Regions from separate parts of the Homo sapiens genome. Here regions 2, 3, 4 and 5 are each linked to region 1. Evidence: promoter capture Hi-C in 16 types of primary human blood cells and fetal thymus (Javierre and others, 2016). All regions are on one chromosome and are shown on one strand. Each heading gives the region's core, a stretch centred on a gene start or on the middle of the fragment in contact. The rest is flanking DNA. Distances are from core to core; before and after follow the strand shown. Region 1 holds the start of CD101 (CD101 molecule). Region 2 overlaps CD2 (CD2 molecule). Region 3 has its middle 25 kb from the start of CD2. Region 4 has its middle 67 kb from the start of PTGFRN. Region 5 has its middle 38 kb from the start of PTGFRN.

What was found. The method cuts DNA at HindIII sites, captures the fragments that hold promoters and counts their contacts. A CHiCAGO score of 5 or more calls a contact.
Region 2: a contact is called between a fragment that was not itself captured here and the fragment with the promoter of CD101 in region 1, in 1 of 17 cell types (naive CD4 T cells). The highest score is 5.0, in naive CD4 T cells.
Region 3: a fragment that was not itself captured here is called in contact with the fragment with the promoter of CD101 in region 1 in 3 of 17 cell types (naive CD4 T cells, total CD8 T cells and naive CD8 T cells); the score reaches 7.5 in naive CD4 T cells.
Region 4: a fragment that was not itself captured here is called in contact with the fragment with the promoter of CD101 in region 1 in 9 of 17 cell types (M0 macrophages, total CD8 T cells, M1 macrophages and 6 more); the score reaches 7.3 in M0 macrophages.
Region 5: a contact is called between a fragment that was not itself captured here and the fragment with the promoter of CD101 in region 1, in 4 of 17 cell types (M1 macrophages, M0 macrophages, naive CD4 T cells and 1 more). The highest score is 6.1, in M1 macrophages.

The regions. Positions count from the first base shown.
Region 1 is chr1:116,999,519-117,005,270 of GRCh38, reverse strand. It overlaps CD101 (CD101 molecule), which reads right to left and starts at 3,511. Exons shown (of 10, transcript NM_001256106.3): 1 at 3,411-3,511. The coding sequence starts at 3,453. The HindIII fragment of the contact is 2,275 bases long and covers 3,088-5,362 here.
Region 2 is chr1:116,758,946-116,764,697 of GRCh38, reverse strand. CD2 (CD2 molecule) reads right to left here. Exons shown (of 5, transcript NM_001767.5): 3 at 4,066-4,296; 4 at 92-214. Among named protein-coding and RNA genes, the nearest start is that of CD2, 7.4 kb to the right of the region's middle. The HindIII fragment of the contact is 8,969 bases long and covers 1-5,752 here.
Region 3 is chr1:116,776,535-116,782,286 of GRCh38, reverse strand. No RefSeq gene overlaps it. Among named protein-coding and RNA genes, the nearest start is that of CD2, 25 kb to the right of the region's middle. The HindIII fragment of the contact is 2,498 bases long and covers 1,849-4,346 here.
Region 4 is chr1:116,840,184-116,845,935 of GRCh38, reverse strand. No RefSeq gene overlaps it. Among named protein-coding and RNA genes, the nearest start is that of PTGFRN, 67 kb to the left of the region's middle. The HindIII fragment of the contact is 154 bases long and covers 3,541-3,694 here.
Region 5 is chr1:116,869,308-116,875,059 of GRCh38, reverse strand. No RefSeq gene overlaps it. Among named protein-coding and RNA genes, the nearest start is that of PTGFRN, 38 kb to the left of the region's middle. RefSeq lists an enhancer at 3,739-4,033. The HindIII fragment of the contact is 158 bases long and covers 2,445-2,602 here.

The sequences.
Region 1 (5,752 bases), core at 2,262-4,761:
GGTAGGAAGGGGTGGGATGGAGAATGGGTGAAGCCAGCAAGGAGGATGAATGAAGTAATGTCCTAGTAGAGGGATGACAGGGAGGGTGCTGTGTTATAGTCTCAACGTCTGTGTCTTCCTAAAACTCACACGCAGAAACCTAATTTCCAAGGTGATGGTATTAGGAGATGGGGCATTTAGGAAGCAATTAGGTCATGAGGGCTGTGCTCTCATGAATGGGATTAATGCCCTTGTAAAAGAGTCCAGGAAGCTCGCTAGCCCCTTCTGCCACGTGAGGACACAGTTAGAAGGTGCTATGAGGAACAGGCCCTCACTGACACCAAACTGCCAGTGCCTTGATCTTAGACTTCCCAGCCTCCAAAACTAAATTTCTGTTGTTTATAAGCCCCCCTCCCCCACCCGCCCCAGTTTATGGTACTTTTGCTACAACACGCCAAACAGTCTAAGACATACTACTTTCTGAGAAAAGTGAAAGAAATAGTGTGGAGATTTCAAAGGTATTTTTCAGGTAGAAGGCATGACTGGCAGAGATCAACTCAAATGGCTATGCACTGGGGCCATAAGCTTAAGCATCTTACTATAAATATATTCTCTCTGGGTTTTTTCAAGTACATATCATCCACCCTCCGAAAAACACCTGTGAGGACTGCCCTCTTGCTCTCTCTTTTAATGGGTAGAGGGTTAGCTACTTTTGAATAGTAGCTCATATTCTTGTTGGCTGATGAGTACAAAGCTTGGCACTGACATACTAACATTAGAATCATGCTTTCAAAACACCAAAAATTCCTCGATGGTATTGACTTTCTTTAAAAATATCACTGGAATTGTCAAATTTACCACTGCAGTATTATTTGAATGAAAACGATTAGGTTGAACTGTATAAAATGGTCCATACTTGAGCACTTTTTATACCAAAAAAACAGCAGTTTCAAATAATGCTACCTTATACAAAACCTACCTCAGGAATAGCCAACATAACAAGCAGCTTCTTTCTCTTTTCACATTCAAAAACCCTATATGCTTGGAGGCTGAGATAGCTTCCATCCATACTAAGTGGAATCTTTTTTATTTTTCATGAATGCAAACTCAGTAAGACAGACAATAGCCCTTCCCCCAAACCCTGCCATATTAATGGCCATTATTTGTAGGGCAGCTAGTTTGGGTGGGGGAAATAGATCAAGCAGACAAAGCTAACTGCTAAATCCGAGAACTCATTTACCCATGACATTAATCTCATATGGCACCATTTTCTATCAGGATTGTTCAGTCCTTATATTTACTAAAAAAAAATTGGGACAAAGTGTAAATTTGCTAACCAATGTAATTGATCAATAGATCGTTATTTAAATAATTTATTTCAATTCCCCTCTATATTTGTAAGGACAAACAGCAGACTTCTAAAGCTTTTTCCAGTAACTTCCTGATTTATGTATTCTTCACATAAAAACTGTGCTTCTACACAAAATTAGTGCTTCAGATGAGTCAGAATTTAGAAGAAGTAAATGTATAACCCAGTTTAGGTAATTGTTTAAATGGGTTAAGGAAAAGCTTCCAGCTTCCCCTTTTTGAGCCTTGATTACTACTTTCCTTCCCCCAGGGCTTCTAGCCTGCTTACCAAAAAAAGAGACAGAATTTGCAATTCTATGAATTATTGCACAATGTAAACCCAGTTTCCTCCTATATACATAGCAAACATAGAATTCAAATACACAAAGCACATACACTTGAGAATCACACTCAGACAACTTAACCAAACAACAAAAACACACCAGCCCCCAAAGGATCCCACCAGTGCACCTATCCATCAACACCCGCCAAGCCAGTCTGGCAGGCATCCGTCACCCAGCAAGTGGTCCCAGTAACTTCCCCTGCAGGCCCTAGGTCTGACTCTTAACCTCACACTATCATATGTACCTAGAGACATGAGCACAATTCAACTCAATCAATGTTTATTAAGCAACCTCTTTGTGCTGAATGCTGTATTCTTTTCTTTTAATTCTTCAGCCATAGTCCTGGTCACACCAAATGCAGCTTGGTTTAGTTCCCCAATCATCCCAGCCATTCGGGTCCCTGCACTGGCTCCATCCAGTCTCTCTAAAGCAAGAGTTTTGTTTGTTTGTTTGTTTTTTTAGATGGAATCTCACTCTGTCACCCAGGCTGGAGTGCAGTGGCTCAATCTTGGCTCACTGCAACCTCCACCTCCCAGGTTCAAGCGATTCTCCCACCTCAGCCTCCCAAGTAGCTAGGGCCACAGGTATGTGCCACCATGCCCAGCTATAAAGCAAGAGTTCTTAACTGGGTCCACATGTAGGATTAAAGGGTCCATAAACTAGGGTGAAAAATAATCTTACATCTTTATTTTCATTTTTGCCTCTAATGGAAATTTAGTATTTTCTTCAGTTATGTATGTAGACAACCACAGATATCTTCATATCACATTACAACTACTTAAGATATATTGAAATGTTATTTATACTCATCATTACTTTGAAGTTTGGTGGTTAAAAGACCTACCTGTAGATTTTGTTATGTAATGCATAAATAAGAAGCAAATAAATTACTGCATTATAATTTATTTAAAATATTTTGATACCTGTATTTCAATGTGACTGATTTCCTCTGTAATTCTATGCATTTTATTTTATGCATTTTAAACATTATTCTGAGATGGAGTCTATTCTCTTTACCAGATGTTAATGAAAACTGTAGCATAAAAAGTACCTGCTATCTGGTTTGAAACTATTCCATTACCTGCTCAACTCATCTGACTCTCCCTTCTACCTCCAAATTTTCTCTTCTTCCATCCTATTCAAACATAGATAAATGCCCCTAGATCAGGCAAGCCCCTCTGCATGGCCCTCAGTAGAGCCAAGTGAATCTTCCTGTTCATTTCTCAGTCTCTCAGTAGTCAATTTCCACTTCCACTCGCAGGTGAAATCTAGAACCTTCTTTTAGCATAGTCTAAAACTACTAAGTACTTTCATAACCTTTCTTTCCATCCAGTCATATCTGCAAGGCATAGTTATCCCATCAAGCCTTAATATCAGGCAAACCTTAAGGTCTCCTCTCAGTTTGGGACACAAAGCTTTTTTACTGTCTCTTGGGATGATCGGCCCAGGAAGATGAGTAAAGCCAGGGCCAAGCAAAACTGACAGATCTGGCAACACACACAAATGTTAAAACCAATGGAATCTTGTGCATGGGACTCAACCAAGCATTGTGACTCCCTGGAACTCAAGGATGTCTAGGTAAGCCAAGAACTGTCATTAGTAAGTCAAAAATTATTGCTAACATCAGAAATATATGGCATAGTTGTTCCTGTAGAGACCAAATTGTCCTGTTCCATCACTCAGCACCCTGAGTTGATGAACTCCTGTGACAAGAGAAACATAAAGGATTATGAAACTTACTCAGAAGGAGAAAGAAAGATGCCACATATGAGATGCCTGCCATTTGGGCCAGCACAGTCCTTTTTCGTCCCAATAGTGTCACTAACATTCAGAGGTTGAGTGACAAATGCTGTGCTCTCACTGCAAAGTAAAGAGGAAGCAAAAGTGTGGTTTTCAGCCCACTGAGAAATAGAGATGTCTTGTGAAAAGCAAAACTGGTTACATTATGTAGCTCTTTACTAATCACTCAAATTTGGGAGTAAAAAAGTTATCTTTGTGGTTAAGTAAACAGATATCGATAAAACTAAGAAAAGATGGGTCTCAACCTGGCTCACAGTATGTGTCATTTGGTAATGATGAGAGAATTTAGGTAAACTGAATAAATAAAAAAGGCACCAGCAATGTTGTCTTCTTGGCCCTTCCTTCTCCTCCTCTCTTGAGAGAGGAAATGACTGAGAAATGGGAGAAGGCCCCTGAAAAACATGAACTTGGGGCGACATGAGGTGGTGCTGAAGGTTACAGGCTCTAGAGTCAGGCTGCCTGGGTTTGCATGCAGATTCTAGTTTTAGTAACTGTGCAATCTTAGAAAACTTAATTAACTTTTCCTAACCCTCATTGCTAAAATGAGGATACTAATAGTAGGTACCCTGTAAGATTACTGTGAATGCCAAATGAGCTAATTTTTTAATTATTTTTTTATTTCTTTTTTTTTGTATTTTACTTTTTTTTATTATTATTATACTTTAAGTTCTAGGGTACATGTGCACAACGTGCAAATTTGTTACATATGTATACATGTGCCATGTTGGTGTGCTGCACCCATTAACTCGTCATTTACATTAGGTATATCTCCTAATGCTTTCCCTCCCCCTTCCCCCGACCCTATGACAGGCCCCGGTGTGTGATGTTCCCCTTCCTGTGTCCAAGTGTTCTCACTGTTCAATTCCCACCTATGAGTGAGAACATGCAGTGTTTGGTTTTTTGTTCTTGAGATAGTTTGCTGAGAATGATAGTTTCAAGCTAATTTATTTAAAGCACTTAGAACAATATCTGGTACATAGTAACTGCTCAATGAATATTAGCTACCATCATCACCATCATGAGACATTTAAGTAAATCTTCATCTGCCCTGTGAAACTGCCTTTGCAAAAATTGTAACAGTGAGAAAGTTATGACAGTGAAAGGGATCTGACCTCACCATCTCCATCTTGCTTCTAACTTCCAAGCTGCCCTTGTTAATTCCTGGTTGTAGGCCAAACTAACTTTGGGAGGAATTTAGCTTAGTTTAATTTTGAAACAAAGAGGATAACAGCCCTTTCTGGAAACAAACCCCCTTCTTGCCTGGGGAGCAGACTTCCCTAGTAAGACTAACAAATTAGCCACAACATTAGAAATTATGGTTTAGGAGTCATGCAGCCAGAGGCCACACAATTCCAACCTCCCCAACTGTTCCTAGGGATAACATCACTATTGTAAAACCTAAATTGGTGCTCAAGGTATTTTTCAGACCCTGCATCCTGATGCACCAGCTGACACCATCCAGGCTGGTGATCTGGTTCCACCAGTTCTTTGATCCCACTTAGGAACGGAAGACTGCAAGAACCCCCTTTGATCCCCTGTGATTTCATCTCCTACCTGACCAATCAGCACTCCCCACTCCCTGGCCTGCCAAATTATCCTTACTAACTCCAGTCTCTGAATTTCCGGGGAGACTGATTTGAGTAATAAAACTCTGGTTTCCCATTTAGCTGGTTCTGTGTGAATTAAACTCTTTCTCTATTGCAATTCTCCTGTCTTGATAAGTCTGTTCTATCTGGGCAGCAGGCAAGGAGAAACCTGTTGGGCAGTTACGCTAATGGGCAGTTACACCGATGTGAACCCAGGTATCAAGGATGGCAGAGGAGTATCTAAATGCAACAGTTGGCCCTGAACCTAGACTAATACTACGCTAGTGCTAGAGTTCTCAGGAAGCTTCCACTTAAATCAGATAATCACAATGCAATGTGTCAACAATCAGTGGGGCACCTATAGGGGGTGGGGAAAATTGGTAGGCAGGAGGGAAGGTCAAGATGGATTGGGCTGGGCCAGGTGAGTCAATGAGTCATCTAGAGAGGCAGGGGGCCAAGGTACAGTTGGGGAAAAACCGTGTGGCATGAATAGTAACACACAGGCTGTACTATCTTGTTGGAATGAAGTTTGAGGTTGTTGTGAAAGAAGGATCTATACAGGTAGGATGGGCAGATCTTAGTGGGCTTCGTGTGCCAAGCCTAAGAGCTTGGCTTTTATTAATACCTCAAAGAAGAGGGAAGCTATGAAGATTTTTAGTGGTAGTATAGCCTGGTTGGATTTTCCGTTTTTCCTTT
Region 2 (5,752 bases), core at 1,981-4,480, 240 kb after region 1:
TTTTCTCTGCAGATTCAAGGTGTCATCCCCATGAGCTGTTTCATGGGGATTTTGCTGGGGCCTGCGGTGGGACAAAAGAGGGGGAGCTTACCATTTCTCCGACTCCTCTGTTTTTTCCTTTTGGTGATATAGAAAACGAGCAGTGCCACAAAGACCATCAAGAGGCTGCCTCCTCCACATATGCCAATGATGAGATAGATGTCCAGACCTTTCTCTGCAAAAGGAAGAGAAGTGGGATGGCTGGGAGGGGTCCAGGCAGAGAGCCCATTACTCTGGCCAAGGATGCTGCCTCCTGCATCAAGCAGATAGAAGAGCTTGTTGGGACCTTTCACCCCATAACTCCCAGGCTCACAGAGGGTGGTGAGTGGTGTCAACCCTGGAAGGACCCAAGGTCCTTGGGAAGCTCCCTCTGCAGGCTCTTTGGGAAACTGCTCTCAGGGGCTAGAAATGCCTGATTGTTCATGCACCAAGGCCGGCCTGCCCACTGCCCCCGTCATGGAAAGCATCACGAAATTTTAGATCCGAGGATCTTAGAGATACTCTAAATGCAACCTCTAGCTTCAAACATGAGGCCCTGAGAGGGAGAATGAGTTGCCCGAAGCCACACAATATCTGTTCCTGAGCATTTCCCTTAAGCAGCCCCTTGTCTCGGTGTTTCTGCACTGTTGATCCTGCTCTCGTCTCTGGCTACCCCCACTGCACCATGATTCCTTCTCACTGTCTCTACCAGGCAGTTTCCAAACACTCAGGGTAAATATTTCACTTGTCCAGCCCAGCACTCTGACCTCACGGCCAGCACCCTCTCACAGAGTTTCCCTGGAGCCACGAGAGAAACCCGGGTGCACAGTGCGTTAGTAACAGCAGTGGGCTTAGTCTTCAGTTGCTGGACCTTCAGTCACTGTAATGCAATGAGGAAAACAGTGACTTTGGTGTTAAGGGAAATGGGTTTGGTCTAGGCTTTTTTAGGCAGGAGCTGTGTGAACTTTGGAGAGTTACTTCACCTCTCTGAGCCTGTTTCCTTCTTTGTAAAGTGGAGATAATGAAACCTACATCATAGGGTGGCTGTTGGAAGTCAATCAGATAATGGATATGAAAGTGCTTTGTAAACTGTAAAACAACACAAATGTGAGGTCTTGCTCTTACTAGTGTTCTCGCACTGGTGTTTCTGGGAGCTGTTTCCCAGCAACAGGGGAAACAGGAGGGGTTCTAGGGCTGTCTGCCCTTTGTGAGTCAATAGCAGTTAGAAAAGCAGCAGTGGGGCTCGGGTCAGGGGACGGGGTCATCTGAAGAACAAACTGGAACTTGGCCCAGCATCACAAAAGAAATGCTTCTCCAGGCAAAAACATACCAGGGAGACACTGTTATACATGAAGCCCAGGATGGGCCCCAAGGAGAGGGTCAGAGGCTCAGAAACCAAGTTTAACAGATCATCAAACTGTGGTGGTTTATTCATCTTGGCTTTCTTTCCTCGAGTCTCTCTCTGACCCATTCTTTGCCTGCCAGTTACACAACTCTCTAAGCTCTACTGATGAAGAGGCCTCCACCAGAGAAGCAGACATAATCTTAAACCATTGAAATTGGGTCAGTAAAGGATTCAGGGCCCTTTAGGCCCTGCTGGCTTGGACGAGGGGCAGGAGATACCAGAGGCCACTTCCTGCTGAGCTTGAGAACTTTTCAGATTTGACCCGGGGTGGGGCAGGGCAGGCCTGAAATGCTTTGGGGAGCACATGGCTAAGTCATGCAGCCACCAGCTCCATCTTCCCTCCAAGTCATCGGGTAGGGTGGCCACAATTTTATCTTGGGCACATGCAGGAATGTAGGCAATGCCTTACACAGCCTGCTCTCCAGTTTGTCCAGGGTGGTGCCCTGGGGCACCTGGTAGTACTTTTGGTGGGGAATGTTCCATCATGTTTCAGAAGCAGCGGTGGCACTGTCAGTCAAAAATATGCCCTCCCAGTTCCTAAATCCAGGCATACTATCTTCCAACAGTATCTCTTGGAGATCACATGCCCATGAGTTTATGTGACAAATTATTTTTGTGCATCTGAATCTGTTCCTTCCTCCTAGTATTTTGATTTTAAGTATGTAAACACTCACCTAATCTGAGCCAAATGGTCAGACTCTGACCATTGCTCCTCTCTGCCTTGGCCTTTCAGAATAAAACTTCCAAATCCCTTTTCGGGTCTTCAAGAGCAGCTCCTCCACCCTAATCTCTCCCCAGGTATTCTTCCCATCTCCCTAGTGGTCCTTCTCGCAATGAGCTTCTGCTCTGCACCATAGAGTAAGGGACATAAGTGTTCCAGCCTTCAAACCTTGGCTGCTCCCAAGGTCCTCCCTCTCTCCCTCCTTCCATCCCTAATACACACACATATTTATACTTGTGGGCTCCAGTTAAAATAAACATGAAAAGTAGGGTTGCCAGATATAATGCAAAACACCCAGTTAAATTTGAATTTCAGATAAACAATGAAAAATTTCTTGCATAAGTATGTTCCATGCAATATCTGAAACGTACTTATGCTGTATTTTTATTTGCTATATCTGGCAACTCTAATCAAAGATCTCCCGAGGCCACTGCAGTGACTCATGCCTATAATCCCAGCACTTTGGGAGGCTGAGGTGGGAGGATAGTTTGAGCACAGGAGTTCGAGACCAGCCTGGGCAACAGAGTGAGACCTTATCTCTACAAAATTTTAAAAATTAGCTGGGTGTGGTGGCATGCTCCTGTAATCTCAGCTACTGGGGAGGCTGAGGTGGGAGGATTGCTTGAGCCTGGGAGGTGGAGGCTGCTGAGAGCTATGATCATACTACCACACTCCAGCCTTGGCAACAGAGCAAAACCCTGTCTCAAAAAAAGTTGCGAAGTCAAGGAGAGGCAACTTCACTTACTGTGCCTTAGTGATGGGGGAATGTGGGAGGATGACTGGTGGGAAAACCGGGGGTGAAGTGATGCTGGTCAAGTTGGTGATTGGCAGACTCTCAGATGCCTTCAATGACCCCTGCTTCCTGGTATTCTCACCTATGTGCAATCCCCTCTGATTGAATGTGGGCTAGACTTATTAACTTGCTTCTAATGAACAGAACACAGCAGAAGTGATTGGGATATTACTCCTGAGATTAAGTTACAAAAAGACCACGACTTTTGTCCTGGGCACTTATTCCTGCTCTTTCTTAGAGGGCTCTGAGGGAAGCTAGCTGCCATATTGTGAGGCAGCCCAACGGCCCACATGAATGAACTTGGAAGTGGATCCAAGAGCCTACTCATCTAATAGTCTGTGAACATGGTGCTTATTTTCTTTGTGGGCCAGGAAGCTGAAGCCTAGAGAGGGGAAGAAACTCTGTCAAGATTCTCTGGCTAAATTTGGACAGACCCAAACTAGAAGTCCAGACCTCTACTCCCAGGCGAGAGCTTGGGCACTATAGAAGGCTGCCTCTCAGAAATACTTCTGGAGGTCACATCAGGCTGGGACACTGGGGATCCATTATGGTCTTGGAGTTTTGAGATTTTCTGGAGCTAGTCCCCAAGCCTTGCCGTCCTGTTGTGTGCCAGGAGTGTTGCCTTGCTGTCCACAGTCCTCTTTGGCCTCAAGGGCTCCATTCCCCCATGACCCTGCCCCCCAGGGTTTCTGCAGCCTTTCTACCTTTACTCCTGATGGGAGGTGCTGACCACTAACCATCTTTAGGGGAGCAGTTGGAATCATGTCACTAACTAGCCAAGGGACCTTGGGCAAGTCAGTTTCCCTCTCTGGAAAATGGGGCTTTGCATGAGATACTCTCTACAGCTCCTCCTTCTTCAGTTTTGCAATTCTTTCTCCTAGAAGAGGATCTTTAAAATTTCTTGTGGTCAAATTGTGCTCAGTGGGAGGACTCCCAGGATGGAAAACCATAGAACACCACCTCCCCTGATGCTTCCCTTGAAGGTTTCCAGGAGGAAGAGATATGCTTTCATGCCTCATCCTGAGCCAGGGCTGCCTCCCAGCATGAGCACCTGTGACCTGGAGCAGCATGCCTCTGCCTACTGAGGGCCTGGCAGGCTGTGTTTGTGAAGTGATGCCCGCCACGCACCTGGACAGCTGACAGGCTCGACACTGGATTCCTTGCTGACTTTGTTCCCTGCTGTGCACTTGAATTTTGCACTCAGGCTGGTGGTCCACTTGTGTGTGATGACCCTCTGAGAAAGTTTTAGATGTTTCCCATCTTGATACAGGTTTAATTCGGGGTCAGTTCCATTCATTACCTCACAGGTCAGGGTTGTGTTGATACAAGTCCAGGAGATCTTTGGTTTTGAGACCCTCTCTAAAAAGAAAGTAAAGATTCAGTTCAATTTAGGCAATTTTCTGATTTTAATAAACATATCTATTTATACAGTGGGGGATGGAGTCAGTTAGGGACAAGGGAACAATGTCAAAGACCTCTAGCAACTTTTGGAAATTATTTTATTTTATTTTATTTACAAAGAGCATTCAGAAAAAAATTATTTCTGATGACATTCACAGATACATTATGCCACTAAATAGTGTATCATATGTAATGTTTATATGCTGTCTTATACCTTAAAATGCTTTCACATATATGACATCACTTAACCCTAACAGACAGGCTGATGTTTTTCTTCCCATTTACAGACAAAATGTTCAAGGCTCTGAGAGGTCCAGTAGGTGGTCTTGGGGCACCACCTAAAACATGGCAGTCAGGGTTTAGGAGTATGGGTAAGAAAGTGCCTCCAGAGTTTGAGAAAGGCAATGCTTTAACAGCAGCCAGGAACCCCATCCTGGAGGAATCACCACATTGACATGTGACTGGGGACCTTGGATACCTCTGCCCCCACCAAGTTCCTGGAGCAGTGGGCCAGGTGGGTATATGTGAGTGTGTGGGTGTCCAAGGAGCTCAAAGCTCTAGGGAAAAAGAGCACCTGCCTGGGAACCAGAGACTTGATTCTGCCTTTTCCCAGCCCAGAGCTGCTCAGTTGCTCACAGGGTCTACGCTGGCCCTCCTCAGAGCATCAGAAAAGGATCAGAAAAACATACCCTACCTGTCACAAAAGGAGCAACATGTGGCAAAGCCCTGGGCAGATCGTTAGGCACTGACATTATTAGTGGTAATTCATGCATTCGATAATCACAAACCTCTTGCCTCTCCCGCACAGAGATTGCACCACAAAAGGAAAATGCCTAGGCCTAGCATTAGATGGCTCAGGTCTACATCTTAGCCCCATCACTTCCTAGCTGTGTGAACTTTTCCTTTTCCTCGTCTTCTGTTTTTTTTTTTTCTCATTCTTTACTTTGTTCCCCCCAGACTTGCCACTTTTCCCTCTCAGTTTCTCTCCATTCATAATATAGATGGACTAGCTTATTTTTCAATGATTCCCTCCCACTCTGACTTCCAGACACCAATATTTTCCCCATGGAACACCATAGTCAAACTTCATTTATGTCCCGATATATATAGGCATGCAGAAATTAAATTAAAAGTTTTCTTCTCATCCCAAGATTCTGCGTTACTGAGAAGGAAGAAAATGGAAATTATCAACATTCAGCAACAGAGTTAGTACATAGTCTAGAGGTTGGGTCACGAAGTTTGCCCGTCTCTTCAGAATGGAAATATTTTTTTTCTACTTATAACAGCAACACAGTAACATGATTGTGGTGATGGTTGCAAAACTCTGAATATACTAAAGGCCGTTTTAGTGTATGGACAAATTGAATGATAGGTGAATTATCTCAATGAAGCTGTTTAGAAAAAAAAGAAAAGG
Region 3 (5,752 bases), core at 1,848-4,347, 220 kb after region 1:
AGAGTCTATTTAATACATAGCAAGAGTGGATGGGGCCAGGCACAATAACTCAGTTCTATAATCCCAGTACTTTTGGGAAGCTAAGGCAGAGGATCGCTCGAGCCCAGAAGGTTGAGACCAGCCTGGCGACATAGGGAGACCCCGTCTCTACAAATAATGATAATTTAAAAATTAGCCAGATGTGGCATGCACCTGTGGTCCCAGCTACTTGGGAGGCTGAGGTGGGAGGATCACCTGAGCTGAGGAGGTCGAGGCTGCAGTGATTGTGCCACTGTGCTCCAGCCTGGGTGACACAGCAAACCTCAGTTTCAAAAAAAAAAAAAAAAAAAAAGAGTGGATGGAAAACGTAGTCTTAACTTCACAACCATGTGTCCAGGTAAACTTTCATCATTAGAAGGGGGCCTGTTAGCAATGATGGCAAGAGCTTCTATTCCTAGCCTGTTAAGGCTTTTGAGTAAATATTTGGTTTTACCCCTTCCATCCATGCATACGTTAATATAATCATGATTTTTCTCCTTTAGACTATTAATGTTGTAATTTTATTGGTAGGTTATTTTTATGTTGCCATTTCCTTACATTGCTGGGATAAACTCCACTTCATCATGATATGTTTTTAAAAATATAGTGTTGAATTTGTTTGTTAATATTTCATCTAGAATTTTTGCATCTACATTTATATGTCAGAAGGGCTTGTACTTTTATTTTATTTATTTATTTATTTTTTTGAGACGGAGTCTCCCTCTATCCCCCAGGCTGGATTGCAGTGGCACGATCTCGGCTCACTGCAAGCTTCACCTCCTGGGTTCATGCCATTCTCTTGCCTCAGCCTCCCGAGTAGCTGGGACTACAGCGGCCCACCACCATGCCAGGCTAATTTTTTGTACTTTGTTTTTTTTAGTAGAGACAGGGTTTCACCGTGTTAGCCAGGATAGTCTCGATCTCCTGACCTCGTGATCTGCCCGCCTCAACCTCCCAAAGTGCTGGGGATTATAGGCGTGAGCCATCGCTCCCAGCCAGTACTTTTAAAAATGTATTAATTTATTACATTTTAATTATTAATTAAATTTGTATTGTATAATTATTACAATATTAATTATTAATTTTAAAACCTCTGCTGTGTCTGTGGTTATTTCCCCATTTGCATTCAGTTTTTAAATTTGTACTTTCTACCTCTTTTTTTTTCACTTTAGTAGCCTTGTCACATCTATCTTATTAATCTTTCTGAAACACCAGTTTAAGGTTTTATTAATCTTCTCTGTTTTGTTGTTGTTTTTCTCTAGGTCATTGATATCTGTTCTATCTTTGTTATTATTTCTTTCTTTCTGTTTCTTTGCTTGTCCCTTCCCTGTATTCTTGAGTATTACTCTTTGTTTTCAATCTGTCTTATATCTTGATAAATGTAATTAAAGCTATACATCTGTCTCTAAAACCTACTGTAGATGTGGTCTTCAAATTTTGAAGTGTTTTCATTACCAGTTTTATATATTTATTAGCTTCATTTGTTATTATTATTTTATTATCAGAACTTTCATTTTACTGTTAGACCAACTATTAATAATTGTTTTCTGGGTTTTCTAGAAATAATGCATTTCTAGAAAAAAATTCTATTTCTAGAAATAACATAGTTTTGGAAAAATGTTCTCTAGTAATCTAACAGTTTTTTCACTATGCTTTTGAAAAATATTTTATAATTTTAATTCATTATGATTGAAAAATATATTCTTGATAACATTCATTCATTAGACTTTCTTGTAACTTTCTTTGTGGATTAATATATGATTAATTTTTAAAATTGTTTCATATATGCCCAAAAAGATTGTGTGTTTTCTGTTGGATATAAATAAAGCTTATTAATTAAAATACTCAGATTTCTATATCACTGCTTTTTCTCTGCTAAACCTATTCATTTCTGAAGACTCCATTTCCTCCTCAATAATTTTTTTGTGTTAAAACTTCCAATTAAAATGATTAATTTATTTATTTGCTATGAAGTTCTGTCGATTACCTTATTTTTTTGTTGCAATATTGTCAGGTGCATATGTGTTTGCTCTACTATTCTTTCAACAAGTATGGTTTCCTTTTTTGTCCTTTGAATTTTTCTATTAGATATTAAGATTGTTGCTTCAGCTTTCTTTTGGATCATATTTTCTTTATTTTCAAACTTTTTGTATTCTTTTGTTGTAAAGTTGTCTTCTGTAAACAGTATATTGTTGGATCTTTCAAAATGCTCAATTTGAGATGTTCTCTTTTGATTGGTTGTTTAACCTATTTACATTTCTCATAATCACTTTATATTATTACTTATTTCTTCCATTTTATTTCATGTTTTTCATTACTGATACTTTTTTTTCTTTTCTAATTTTACTCTTCACTGAGTAGATACGATTTTCTTTTGCTGGTTTAAAAGAACGTATTTTATTTTTGTTTTTATGGTCTTTGCTCTTAAGACATATTTGTTTATTTATTCATCCTGACTTACTAAACTTATAAATACCTATTTCTTTCCTCCAATAAGGCAAGTAGTTTAGCATGTTCTCTTATGTCTCTGGACTCTTCTTTCTCTCTCCCCCACCAATACATATAACAACAACAACAATAACACACACACAACTGATATGGTCTAGACAGAATTTAGTTCTGGGTTTTTATGAATATGGTTTTTAATTTGTGTTTTCATCACACTTTGATTTTTTAAGATAACAATTAATTTGCCAAATTATTTAATCACCCTAACTTCACATTTCTATACAACATCTGTTGTATTTATTTTCCTCTAATTTGAATATTTCTTCCAAGGGTTTTTCAAAGTAAGTTTTTGTATGACATAGGTTCTGAGATTTTGTATACCAGAAACTATGGTTGTTAAGTCCAGAATTTTTAAATTGTATCTTCATGTTTCATGTCAATTTGTCTGTATGTAAAATTCAATGTACAGTAGACCCTTTGAAAACTTGAGTGTGAACTGCAGGGGTCCACTTATATGCAGATTTTTTTCAACCAAATTAGATAAAAAATATGGTATTTGTGGGATATGAAACCCACACATACAGGCAGCCGACTTTTCATATACATGGGTGGGTTCTACAGGGCCAACTGCAGGACTTGAGCATGTGCAGACGTGGATATATATATGGGGGTTCTGGAACCAATCCCCCACATAAACCTAGGGATGACTGCACAACACTTTAAAAATATTACTTCTTTGTCTTCTTGCATCCAGCATTGTTACTGAGAGGTCTCAGGTCAATCTAATGCTTGTTCTTTTGTATGTTTTTCTCTCTGAAAACATTCTAAAAATTTCTTGCAGTCTTTGATGATTCTAATTCTCAGTAAAATGTCTAATTTTGGGGTTTTCTCTCTCTCTCTCTTTGGCTCTATATTATAGGCTCAATTTTCAACTTTATGTTTTTCTCCCTATGGAATCTCTATTATCTGAATACTGATATTTTTATCCTTCATATCCCTATTGTTTCTTTTCTTTTTTTAAAGAAAAGCTGTTTTACTTTCCCCTGCATTCTTGCATAGGTCTTTGCAATGATCTTGCAGGTTCCTAATTCAGTCCTTAGCTGTATCTATCCTGATTCATACTTCAGCTATTATGCATTTTGTTTCAACAGTTATATTTTTCATACCTGATATTTCTTCTTGGTTGTTCTTGCATCATATTGCTAACATCCTCCCTGATCAAGTTTTTGACAAGCCAATGAACCAGCTTGTACTGCTGGTACCTTCCTCCACAACTGTAAACTACAGAACTATAGCAGAGAAAAGCTACAAAAGAGAAATAATCATGGACATGATAAACTAACATATAATTGAGAACCCTCTGAGAAGACTGAAGGCTCTTTTGAACCAGAATGTGAGCAAGCACATGTTGGGGGATGGGTGTCTGCAAACTGGGGCAGAGAAGGAAAGGACAGGGGAGAGCTGGTAAACTCTCTACTTGTTCACTCCCGTCCTGCCTCATCACCACAGCAATCATCAGCAACAGTGTAGTTGGTCCAGTGGTGGAAAAGGGGATATGAGAAGAGGTAATCTGAAGACAGTGCAAAAAGAAAGAAAAGGAAAAGTCTATACAGCCGATTCTCACTATTCATGGTAGTTATGCTCTGTAAAGTTATTGCAAACACTGACTTAGCAAACTGAAACATTGCTCCCAGGGGAAATACAGGGTTAGATTCCTGTGAGCCTTAACACTGAGTGAGTAAACAGTGAGTCAACTGATCAATACAAAACCTAATTTTATGTGTGTTTCTGTTTAAAGACATCTTATTTGAGATATATTGTTGATGCATTAACATTGAACTCATGGCCACCAGCACTATGACTCATGCCTCAGAAAAGCTTGTATAACACATGTTTTCTCTATAAGCCACATGCATAGTTGATAGTTTGCCTAGAATACTAAGCTGAAAATTCCCCAGAATTTGAAAGCATCGCTTTGTTGTCTTCTAGCTTCCAGTATAGTTGTTGAGAAATCCAGTGCTATTCTAATTCTTTCTAATTCTTGATACTTGGTATGGTGTCTCTCTCTGTCTCTCTCTCCACTGCCTTTTTTCTTCTTCCTTCCCCTTACCCCTTTTCCTCTCTCCCCTTCTAATCTTTGTCCCAGTGTTCTGAAGTTTTACAATCATATATCTTGGTGTGAATACATTTTCTTTCATGGTGCTAGGTCCTTGGTAAGCACTTTAAAAAAATAGACTTTATTTTTCAGAACAGTTTTAGATTTACAGCATAATTCAGAGGAAGTTATAGAAATTTCCCATATCCCCCCTATCTCCGCCAACACACATAGCCTTCCCCATTATCAACATCCCCAACCAAGACTGGTGCATTTTTTAACAATCGATAAGTCTACATTGACAAATCATTATCACCTAAAGCCCATAGTTTACAATAAGGTTCACTCTTGACGTACATTCTGAGTTTGAACAAATGTGTAAAGGCAAGTATCCACCATTATAGTATCAATCAAAGTATTCTCAAATCTCTGAAAAGTATCTGTCTCCTGCTATGTATCCCTTCCTGCCATCTGACACCTAGCGACCACTAATCTTTTTACCGTTGCCACAGTTTTGCCTTTTCCAGAGTGTCATATAGTTGGAATCATATGGTATGTGTAGACATTTTAGATTGGCTCCTTTCACTTAGTAATATGCATCTAAGTCTTCCATGTCTTTTCATGGCTTGATAGCTAACTTTTTTTTTTTTTTTTTTTGAGATGGAGTCTCACTCTGTCATCCAGGCTGGAGTGCAGTAGTGCAATCTCGGCTCACTGCAATCTCTACCTCCTGGGTTCAAGTGATTCTCCTGTCTCAGCCTCCCGAGTAGCTGGGACTAAGGTGCATGCCACCATGCCTGGCTAATTTTTGCATTTTTAGAAGAGAGACGGTTTCACCATGTTGGCCAGGCTGGTCTGGAACTCCTGACCTCAAGTGATCCACCTGCCTCGGCCTGCCAAAGTGCTAGGCTTACAGGTGTGAGCCACCATGCCTGGCCGATAGCTCACTTTTTTCACACTGACTAATATTTCGTTGTTTGGATGTACCACAGTTTATTTATCCGTTCACTTACTGAAGGACACCTTGGTTGCTTCCAAGTGGTGTCATTATAAATAAAGGTGCTCTGGGCATGTGTGGGCAGTCTTTTGTAGGAACAAGTTTTCAACTTCTTTCGGTAAATACCAAGGAATATGACTGCTGGATTGTATGGGGAAAGTATGTACAGTTTTATAAGAAACTGCCAAACTGTC
Region 4 (5,752 bases), core at 2,368-4,867, 160 kb after region 1:
ATTGTTCTCATTTTTCCTTAGGCTCAGAAGTTAAGAGACTTAACCAGGATCACCCAGCTTTTCTTCTCCCTCTCCAGGTGGAGCATAGGATTTAGAAATCAAAGACTTAGATCTGAATCTCATTTTTTGCCTCCTACTAGCTCAGAACTGCTGAGCCATTGACTTAACCACTCTGAAATTGTTCCCTGTGAGATAACAATAATAAAATCTACCTTGTAGGCCTGAGGTTAGGATTATATTAAATTATACATGAAAAGTGCTCTGTAAACCTCAATATACTATATGAATTTGGTTATTATTAATGTATAGATAATATGCCACCTATCGTAGCATATATTTTGTTCCATTAAACTTTTTATGATGACATTTCCAAGCATCACTAAAGTATGTTTGAATATAAGGAATAGATTTACAATGAACCCCCATGTACTCACCACTCAGCATCACCATTTATCAACATAAGGCCAGTTTTACTTTATAACCTCTATTACCCTACCCTCTGCTACATTATTTTTAAAGCAATCCCAGGCTTTATATAACTTATTCAAAAATGCTTAAATATATACCTCTAAGAGATAAGAATTCCTTAAAAAAATCCATAATACATTATGACACCTAAAAGAAACTAACAATAATTTCCTAATACCATGCAATATCCAGTCAGCATGAAAATTCACATTATCTCATAAATGGTTATTTTATCTGAATCAAAATCCAAATGAGGGACACATATTGCTTTTGCTGATATTTCTCAAGTCTTTAAAAATCTCTACGAAAGCCCCCCACACTGCCACAGTTATTATTTTTTTTACTTGCTATTGTTTTGGTTGAAAATACTGAGTAATTTGTCCTAAAAAAAAATCTCCCATATTTTGGATTTGGCTATTGCATTCTCATAGTGTCTTTAGCATGTTCTTCTATCCCAAGTGTTTGTATAAAGCAGTCATTATATCTAGAGGCTTGATCAGTTTGGCATTACACTTTTGGCAGGAGGATTTTGTGGCTGTTGCTATTGCCTATTGCATCACAGGAGGAGGCTCATCATGTCTGGTGGTCTCTTGCTTTGTTTTGGGATCTTAAGATTGATCAGTGGGTTTACCAAGTGGGTAAATCAAGGTTTTGTGGAGACTGAAGTTTGTGCAATTTGAGGGGCTTTCTTTAAGAGAAATAAATCAAAATTACAAATATAAAATTAGGTTCTAGGTCCATGCAAGTGAGGAGAGCTGAAGCTTACACCATATTAGCTTGTGGTAAACTTGCCTCTGGTTCAGGGAGTCCATCCATCAGTCTGATCCATCCATTATTACGTTCCCCATCAGCCTCTTATCTACTGACTTTAGCATCGATTGATGGTCAGTGCCTACATCTATTTTTTTAATTATAAAATATTCTAATTCTTTCATTCACTGCACATTTATTAGCTGGTATTCTTGTATACAGAAGAAGTTTTCCTCATCAACGATTTGCTTACTGTATGAATCAGAGTCCAGATAGGAGACAGAAACCACACGATGCTTAGAATAGGTAAATTTTATTTTATTTATTTTTTTGAGATGGAGTCTCACTCTGTCGCCCAGGGTGGAATGCAATGGCGTGATCTTGGCTCACTGCAACCTCTTCTTCCTGGGATCAAGAGATTCTCCTGCCTCAGCCTTCCTAGTAGCTGAGATTACAGGTGGCTGCAACCACACCCAGCTAATTTTTGTATTTTTAGTAGAGACAGAGTTTCACCATGTTGGTCAGGCTGGTCTCGAATTCCTGACCTCATTGATCCACCCGCCTCGGCCTCCCAAAGTGTTGGGATTACAGGTGTGAGCCACTGTGCCTGGCCTTAAAATAGGTAAATTTTAACATAAATTATTAAATAGAGATTAAGGAACTCTAAAGAATACAGGAATAGCAGAAACAGAGAACAGCCACTACTTCTAGAGTGCAGTCAGAGCACTCAAGGAAATAACAAACTGGAAGACAGTCCCTCATTCCCAATGATGGAGAGAGTGTGACTGTTCCATGGAGAGTGGAGATTGAATAGTGGAGATGTTCACTGAAGTACCTTAGGCTAGAGCTGGCAAGCAGGGAAATGCCCTGTGTTAGTCAGGGTTCTCCAGAGGGACTAATAGGATAGATGTATATATGAAAGGGAGTTTATTAAGGAGAATTGAGTCATGTGATCACAAAGTAAAGTCCCATCTGCAAGTTGAGGAGCAAGGAAGCCATTGGTGGATCAGTCCAAGTCCCAAAACCTCAAAAATAAGGAAGCTGACGGTGTAGTCTTCAGTCTGTGGCCAAAGGCCTGAGAGCCCCTGGCAAATCACTGGTGTAAGTCCAAGAGTCCAAAAGCTGAAGAACTTGGAGTCTGATGTTCAAAGGCAGAAAGCATTCAGCACAAGAGAAAGAAGAAGGCCAGAAGACTCGGCAAGCCTGCTTGTCTATCTTCTCCTGCCTGCTTTATTCTAGCTGCGCTGGCAGCTGATTAGATTGTGCCCGCCAGATTAAGGGTGGGTCTGCCTTCCCCAGCCCACTGACTCAAATGTTAATCTCCTTTGGCAACACCCTCACAGACACACCCAGAAACAATACTTTGCATCCTTTAATCCGATCAAGTTCACACTAAGTGTTAACCATCACATGCCCACTGTGGGGCTGACAAAGCTTGATAGAAAGTTCTCCACAAGGCCAGGCATGGTGGCTCATTCCTGTAATCCCAGCACTCTGGGAGGCCAAGATGTGCAGATCACCTAAGGTCAGGAGTTCAAGATCAGCCTGGCCAATATAGTGAAATCTGGTCTCTACTAAAAAATACGAAAATTAGCTGGGCATGGTGGCAGGTATCTGTAGTTCTAGCTGCTTGGGAGGCCGAGACAGGGAGAGTTGCTTCAACCCTGGAGGTGGAGGTTGCAGTGAGCAGAGATCATTCCACTGCACTCCAGCCTGGGCAACAGAGTGAGACTCCGTCTCAAAAAAAAAAAGTTATCCGCAAGTGTACTGCTAAAACTAACTGGGGCATCCGCCACACTGTTGGTCGTTGTGCACTGCAGGAGCAAGGAGGAAAGCACACTGAGCCAGAAAAACTCCTTCCTCCTGCAATTTCCCTCCAGCACCCTCCACTGGCAAAAATGTTTAACATTATGTCAGCTGTTGATAGGAGAAATGTTTACAGGGTACAGCACCAGAATTGCAAAGCAGAGCAAAGAGTGGGCTTTGAGCTGAGAGATAGCACATTGATACCTGGCATACTGTGAAGCATAGTTCATACAGGAAAGGCAGGACAAATGCTTGGTCTGTCCCTTTATTCTCCAGTTTTCTAAATAAGTTAGGGTCCTGGAAACTTCCAAAGAGTACTCTAATAATTTCTGTCGTAATTGTTTTAAAAGCATTATGAACTCATGAATTTAAACATGTTTGAAGTGTTCAATCTGCTACAGTTATTATTCTTTTTGATTGGTAGCATATATTTTTAACTGATCCAGTGTATAAAGAATGTATGCTATCTTTCCTTTAGTGTTTAGAGGAGGAAAGATGAAAAACTATCTCAAAGCTTCTGGACACAAAAATCCTTATAGCATAGATACTTATAACATAAAGGGATCAGAACTGGGAAGGTTTTTTTTCTGTTAGTTCAAGAATTACCCTGAAACATGTGAGAAATCTTGCCCTTGAATGCACACTAGCTATAAAGTAAGGAAAGGAAGCTTTCTTAATCACAGATAGTTAGCTTGTCAGAGCTTTCCAACTGACATGTCATAAGCCATATACATATTAATGCTTTCAGTGTGTGCTATGAGGTGACAAAGGTTGGGAAACACTGGATTAAATGACTGAGGCAAATTTTATGTTCTAAAGGTGGCTGAAACAACATTTTTCACCTCGTGTGCTCTTTCACAATGTGACCTTGTACTACTCCATCAAGAGGTAGAGCCTACTTCCCTTCCCCTTGAATCTAGTCTGTCTAATTATTCATTTGTAACCAATACAATGAAGTAGAAGTGTGCTACGTGATTTCTTCAGCCATGTCAGAAAAAGTCTTGCAGCTACTGCCTGGTTCTTATGAGATGCTTGTCCTGAGGGAAGCTAGATGCTAGGTATGAAGTCCAACTACCCTGAGTTAGCTATATGGGAAAGGCCACATGTGAGTTCCCCAGTTGACAGCTTAATCAGCCACCATCACCTGCCAATCATGTGAATGAGACATGCTGGACATCCAGTCCTGTTGAATCTTCAGATGACTTCAGCTCCAGGTAACATCTGACTGTAACCACAAGAGAGATGCCAAGTGAGAAGTCCTAGGCACAGCCTTTTCAAAATTTTTGACCCACAAAATCATGAGTGAAATAATATGGTAGTTTTGGTAAGGTGTAGTAGCTCATGCCTGTAATCTCAACACTTTGGGAGGCAGAGGCGGGTGGATCACCTGAAGTCAGGAGTTTCATACCAGCCTGGCCAACATGGTGAAACCCCATCTCTGCTAAAAAAATTAGCCAGGCATGGGGGCAGGTGCCTGTAATCTCAGCTACCCAGGAGGCTGAGGCAGGAGAATTGCTTGAACCTAGGAGGTGGAGGTGACAGTGAGCCGAGATCCTGCTACTGCACTACAGCCTGGGCAGCAGAGCCAGACTCTGTCTCAAAAAAAAACTAAAAAAAGGCTGGACACGGTGGCTCACGCCTGTAATCCCAGCCCTTTGGGAGGCCGAGGCAGGTGGATCACGAAGTCAGGAGTTCAAGACCAGCCTGGCCAAGATGGTGAAACCCTGTCTCTACTAAAAATACAAAAATTAGCCAGGCGTGGTGGTGGGCACCTGTAATCCTAGCTACTCGGGAGGCTGAAGCAGGGAATTGCTTGAACCTGGGAGGCAGAGGTTGCAGTGAGCCAAGATCGGGCCACTGCACTCCAGCCTGGGCGACAGAGCGAGACTCTGTCTCAAAAACAAACAAACAAACAAACAAACAAAACAACAACAAAAAAACCCCACAAAATAATATAGTAGTTTTAAGGTGTTGTTTTGGACTAATTTATATCTCAGAAATAGTAGCTGGAATAAAGACCTCAAAGGCCTTCCCTACGTAGGTGACAGATCAAGATTGCATGTATACTTATGCATTATATGTACTATACAGAAGAGATTTTATAAATAAGGACCTAGTTCTTCTAGGCTCTGATCTGAGGGTCCCTCGAGTCCGCGGGCAAGCCCTGGTCATTTTTTGATAGGCGTCAAGTATCCTGAGTCACCTGTCTCGTCGTCTGGTATGACCTACTACACTTTCCAGGGCACTTATTGGAGTTTGAAGTTCTTCACTCATTCTGGCTAATAGCAGAAGAGGACCAGTGGCTTTCCTTCTAACATATCCCGTTATTTTAGCTGTTAGAAGAATATGTGGTTCTTGCAGAGGCAACGGGATGTGGAAGAAGGAGCATGAAATCTAGAGTCAAAAGACCTCGGCTCAAGATCCAATTAATTCACTTATAGCTGCATGACCTTAAAGAGTTTAACAGCCCTAGCCTCAGTTTCCCCATTTGAAAATAAGAAAAATAATTTGTGTCTCATAGAGATGTTGTGAGGATTAAATGAGACAATATTTATGAAACCCTAGGAGTTTCAACCAGTTTGTTTGCATTTCTTTTATTATTTTTATGCCTTTTCATTTTATTTTTAGAAAATTAAAAAATATAGAAAGTACAAAAAAGAAAAGAAGTATCATTCATATTCTTACAACTGGGAATTACCACCATTAATATGGTGATTAATTTATTTCC
Region 5 (5,752 bases), core at 1,274-3,773, 130 kb after region 1:
TCCATGAGCAGCAGAAGTGTAGAAAACTACAGCTAAATCTGTCCAATTGTTAAGATATTAGGGAAGTGGTACAGGCTATGCTCTCTGCCTTTGGCCTGCCATCTAAATTGACTAACCTAGGCTGGGCAACATAGCAAGACTGTTACAAAATTTTTTTTTAATTAGCCAGATGTAGTGGTGTGTGTCTGTAGTCCCAGCTACCCAGGAAGCTGAAGTGGGAGGATTGCTTGAGCCCAAGAGTTCAAGGTTATAGTAAACTATGACTGTACCACTGCATTCCAGCCTGGCTGACACAGTGAGAAACTGTCTCAGAAAATAAGAGGTCAGGAGTTCAAGACCAGCCTGGCCAACATAGTGAAACCCCATCTCTACTAAAAATACAACAATTAGCCAGGCATGGTGGCGCATGCCTGTAGTCCTAGCTACTTGGGAGGCTGAGGCAGGAGAATGGCTTGATCCTGGGAGGTGGAGGTTGCAGTGAGCTGAGATCGTGCCATTGCACTCCAGCCTGGGCGACAGAGACAGACCCCATCTCAAAAAAAAAAATTAATAATAAAAATAAAATGCTATTAAAAACTGTCTGCTAGACAATGGGTGACAACTTAGCTGTTACTATCCAATTAAAGCTGTTGCTTTCCTTCCAAAACTCAACTAGCTGCCATTAAACTGGGGCAAAGGGTGGGCAGAGGACAAAGGTCTGAAAGATCTGAGTCTTTCAGTTTAAAAACCATTTTTAGACAAGATATTTGGCTATTGTTACTCGCACATGGAACTGATGGAAGGCAAATGGAAAAGATGCCTACTTAGTTTTTGAGGGAATTGTACTGCCAAGCATCCAAGCCTAATCTGCCAAAGCCTGTGACTATTCAATGCCTAAAGCAACCTTTGTGCCTCCAACTATGTATTAACAAGAAACAGGCTATGAAAGCTGTGCAGCAGTCCTCCCACCCCAAAGGGCAAACTCATCACTTCCTGCCTCAGACATAACCATGGGGAATAATGGACACAGAAGCACCTCCCACAGGACGGACGGCTGACTCCTGATGTTTAAGAAGAGAGTCCCCTCTGTTCTTGCTCAGCAGGATTTGATAATTACTATAGATCGACTTCTGGGACTTTCACATTTTCTGACTGGTAGTTTTAATTGTGGTTTTCTTGTTCTTACTACATCACTGCATATGTAGTGGGTTATGGGAAAGATAACTAATCTTTTAGTTTATGGTTTGTGCTATGGTTTGAATATGGCTCCTCCAAAATTCATGTTGAAACTTAATCCCCAATGTCATCATAGTAAGGGGTCGGGGGGTAGTCTTCAGCAGGTGACGACATCACGAATGAAATTAGTACCCTTATAAGAGGGCCTGAAGGGAGTCTGGCCCTTTTTTGCCCTCCCACCATGTGACAATTCAGCAATAGGTGCCATCTTCGAGGCAGAGAGCCCTCACCAGACACTAAATTTGCTGGTGCCTTAATCTTCGACTTCCTAACCTCCAGAATTGTAAGAAATAAATTTATATTATTTATAAAGTACACAGTCTAAGGTATTTTGTTATTGCAACCTGAACAGACTAAAACAGCTTGCAAGATTGTGAACATCATATCTGGATTTGAAGACGGAGACTACACTTCACTCAGAGATCTTGACTTTGATCTGGAGGCAGTCCCTGGGTTTCTTCCCCTTGAGGAGGGATTGTGTCCTACATGGGGATGCCCATATATTTGGGGAGGCCAAAGGGATAAACTGTAGCAGAGAGACTGTTTAATTGTCTCACAACATTTGTTTTCTTCTATTTTAAAGTATTAGGACCTTAAATGTTTAGCTAGGCACCTGCTGCTAGAAGGACTGCTTCCCAGTCTTCTTGATTCTCTCCCGGTCATGGGATTAACGTTTGGTTAGTTAGATGTAAGTAGAAGTAGTGTGAGCAACTTCTGGAAAGTGTTCTTAAAGGCAGGGAGCTTTTCCTGCTCTCTACCTTTTTCTTCTTTCTCCTGGATGGAATGGGATATGCGGGATGGAGCTCAAGCATTCATTTTGGACGATAGGATGATTTAGGAAGTGGAGATTATGCAGTTAAGGCAGAAAAATAAAAATAAAAAAAATCTGATTCCCTGCACTGTGGAGCCCTTTACCATCTGTGGACTACCTATTCAGGCTTATATGAAAGAGAAATAAACTTTCATGTTGTTTAAGCCACTGGTTTTTTTTTTTGTTATTGTTTTTTAAGGGAGGTGAAGGTGTTGGGGAGTAGGGAGAGTTCAATATCCTGCTGCCAAACCTAATCCTAACTAATTCATGACAAGTTACTTTTTTGAGTTACTCCAGTTTCCCTGAAATGGGCAGATCTGGGGGCCAAAGACCAAAGTGGTTTAGAGAGACCACAAATTGAAGTAAACATGATGCCATCTTATTCTGTGACATGTCAGTTAGAGGAGAATTCCAAGCTTAGGGAATTTGCATTCTGTCATACCACAATTTATATCATCATCAGTATCTCTAGGAAAAAGGGTTACCTATCTCTCTTTGTACTGAGACACTGGAACTTTAGAAACCCAAATTCATTTATTCCTATGGGTTTTAGCCAAGGAACTTGCCTGCAAAGCTTCCTGATTAGACAACCGTCTGCCAGGTTGGTTTGGGAAAAAGTGCTCAACTGGCACAGAATATCTATGGCTCTGGAAAATGACTAAACTATTCCAAACGGTTTTAAAAGCAAATCCATTTTTAATATCTCAACAACTGTTTCAATTTTGTTCTACCTAGTTTGGTATAAATCTATTTTTAATTTCTAGCTCCTTACAGCCTCAATTGACTTCAGTTTTTATGTGGAAATTTTTATATCTTATTTCTTCCAAATTCTACTTTATTAATTTGATGCAGTTGTAGTCTGCCTCTGATTCCACGTAATTACTTAATCATTTCACTATAATATTGACTCAAAGATTTTGTTATTGGTTACCTAAATATTACTAGTTCCCTTCCATTTCCTCTCTTGCACAATGACAGCGCTTGTTTATAAACCTGCTTTGAAATCACCAAGGGTGAGGAGCAACATCAAGATAAAGTACTGTGTTGTTCTTTCCTTGGAAATATGCCTTGGCTTAAATTTGAACTTGGGGTATAAATTGTAGAAGATTCTGCCAAGAGCGCTCCAGTTCTGATATGTGGCGTTAGTTGAATTTCTGCTTCCAAGCAGGTTATTATGCAACTTGAGGGAGATGGGAAAGAAGGGTCAGGCAGGAAAGGATGGATTTTATTCCCGGGCTATAATACTGTCATCATATTCAGAAATCCACATCTCCTTTTCTCCTTCCTTTTCTGCTGTCTCCTTTCCTTCCTCATTTTCTTTTTTGTAAATTTTCCAGTTACTTCCCTCCCACCATCTCCCCTCCCTTTCTGCCTTCCTTCATCCCACAAGTATTCACTGAATACCCTGGTAGTTAATCTTTAAAGATGGTGCCTCGCCAGGCGCCATGGCTCACGCCTGTAATCCCAGCACTTTGGGAGGCTGAGGTGGGTGGATCATGAGGTCAGGGGTTTGAGACCAGACTGGCCAACGTAGTGAAACCCCATCTCTACTAAAAATACAAAAAATTAGCCGGATGTCGTGGCGAGTGCCTGTAATCCCAGCTACTCGGGAGGCTGAGGCAGGAGACTCGCTTGAACCTGGGAGGTGGAAGTTGCAGTGAACCGAGATCATGCCACTGCACTCCAGCCTGGTGATGGAAAGAGACTCTGTCTCAGAAAAAAAAAAAGAAAAAGAAAAAAGTTGGTGCCCCCAGTGAACTTGGAGGGGTCACATGTAGGCACTCCAGACAGTGGGCGGAGCTGAACTCCTGGCCAGTAGCCAGCATCCTGTGTCAGCCAAGTCTATCAGATGACTCCCGTCCCAGCTGCCATTTGACTCCAACCACATGAGAGATTCCCAAGGAAGAACCACCCAGTTGAGCCCAGTCAGCCTATGAGATTGTGAGATTCTAATAAACTGTTGTTTCAAGTCCCTGTATTTTAGGATGGCTTATGATGCAGCAATAGATCATTGAAATGAGCATTTACTATGAACCAGGCACTGTTCTAGAACCTGGAGAGTAAACAAAACAAAAATCTGTGCCCTCATATACCCATATGCTAATGAGAGATAGTCAATAAAAAAGATAAATATACAAAGGGTAATAAAAGCCAAGAAGAAAAAAAACAAAGAAAGGGAATATGAAGCATGGAGATGGTGGAGATGTTTTGGTTAGGTAGCCAGGAAAGGACTCACTCAGAAGATGACTTTTGAGTACAGAACTAAGAGAAGTGGGGAATCAGGCATATGGTTATCTGGGGGAAGAGTGTCTTGGGGGAGCAAATAGTAACTGCAAAGTTCCTGGTGTGGGCATCTGTCTGGTATATAGTCAAGGAACAGCACAGAGGCCAGCGTAGATAGGGCAGAATGAACAAGGGGGAGGTAGTTGGCAATGAGGTTGAAGAGGCAAGGGGTGCAGATCAGTAGGGTCCCGCAGGACAGAGGAAGGACTTTGGCCTTCATTCCCGATGAGAGCCTCTGGAAGACTTTGAGCTGAGGAGTGATGTCATTTGGCTCATGATTTAACAAGATCACTCTGGTTGTTCTGTTGAAACAAGAGAAAGCCAGGGCAGAAACAGGCCCATTAGCAGCGTTTGTGATCATGCAGGAGAGAGACGATGGTGACTGCGATCGGGGGGTGGCAGGGGTAAATGGTGAGGGAAAGGGTACATTCTAGGTTTATTTTGAAAGTATGATTGATAAATGTCTGGGCGCAGTGGCTCACACCTGTAATCCCAGCACTTTGGGAAGCCAAGGCAGGCAGATCACTTGAGCTCAGGAGTTTGAGATCAGCCTGGCCAACATAGCGAAACTCCGTCTCTATTAAAAATACAAAAATTAACCAGGCATGGTGGTGCATGCCAGTAGTCCCAGCTACACAGGAGGCTTGATAAGAGAATTGCTTGAACCCAGGAGGCAGAGGTTGCATTGAGCTGAGGTTGAGCCACTACACTCCAGATTGGTGAACAGAGAGAGACTCTGTCAAAAAAAAAAAAAAAAAAAAAAAAAAAAAGAGAGAGAAAGTGTAGTTGATAATAGATTAAATTTGGGTTGTGAGAGAAAGAAGTAAAAAATAAAGATCTGAGAAACTAGAAAATGAAGATCACATTAACTGAGTCGGAGAATGCAGCAGAAGGGGCAGTCTGAGGCAGAATAGCCGGGGTTTGTTCTTCATTGTCTAATCTGTGCCATTCCTTCTCTTTCCTTCTTTCTTTCCTTTCTTCTTCTCCTCCTCCCCCTCCTCCTCCTCCTCCTTCTCCTCCTCCTCTTCCTCCTTCCTCCTCCTCCTCTTCTCCTTCCTTTTCATCTCCTTCTTTTTCTTTTTCTTTTTTTTAAGATGGAGTCTCACTCTGTCGCCCAGGCTGAAGTGCAGTGGCGAGATTTCGGCTCACTGCAACCTCTGCCCCCCGGGTTCAAGTGATTCTCTTGCCTCAGCCTCCCAAGTATTTTTGTATTTTTAGAAGAGACGGGGTTTCACCATATTGGCCAGGCTGCTCTTGAACTCCTGACCTTGTGATCCACCTGCCTTGGCCTCCGAAAGTGCTGAAATTACAGGCATGAGCCACCGTGCCCAGCCTTTTCATCTTGTTCTGTTTCATTGAACTGGGATGCCTCTCTACCCAGTTTGAGATGCATATAATGTACCCAGTCATTTCCCAGAGCACATTATTCAAGACCCCCCCATG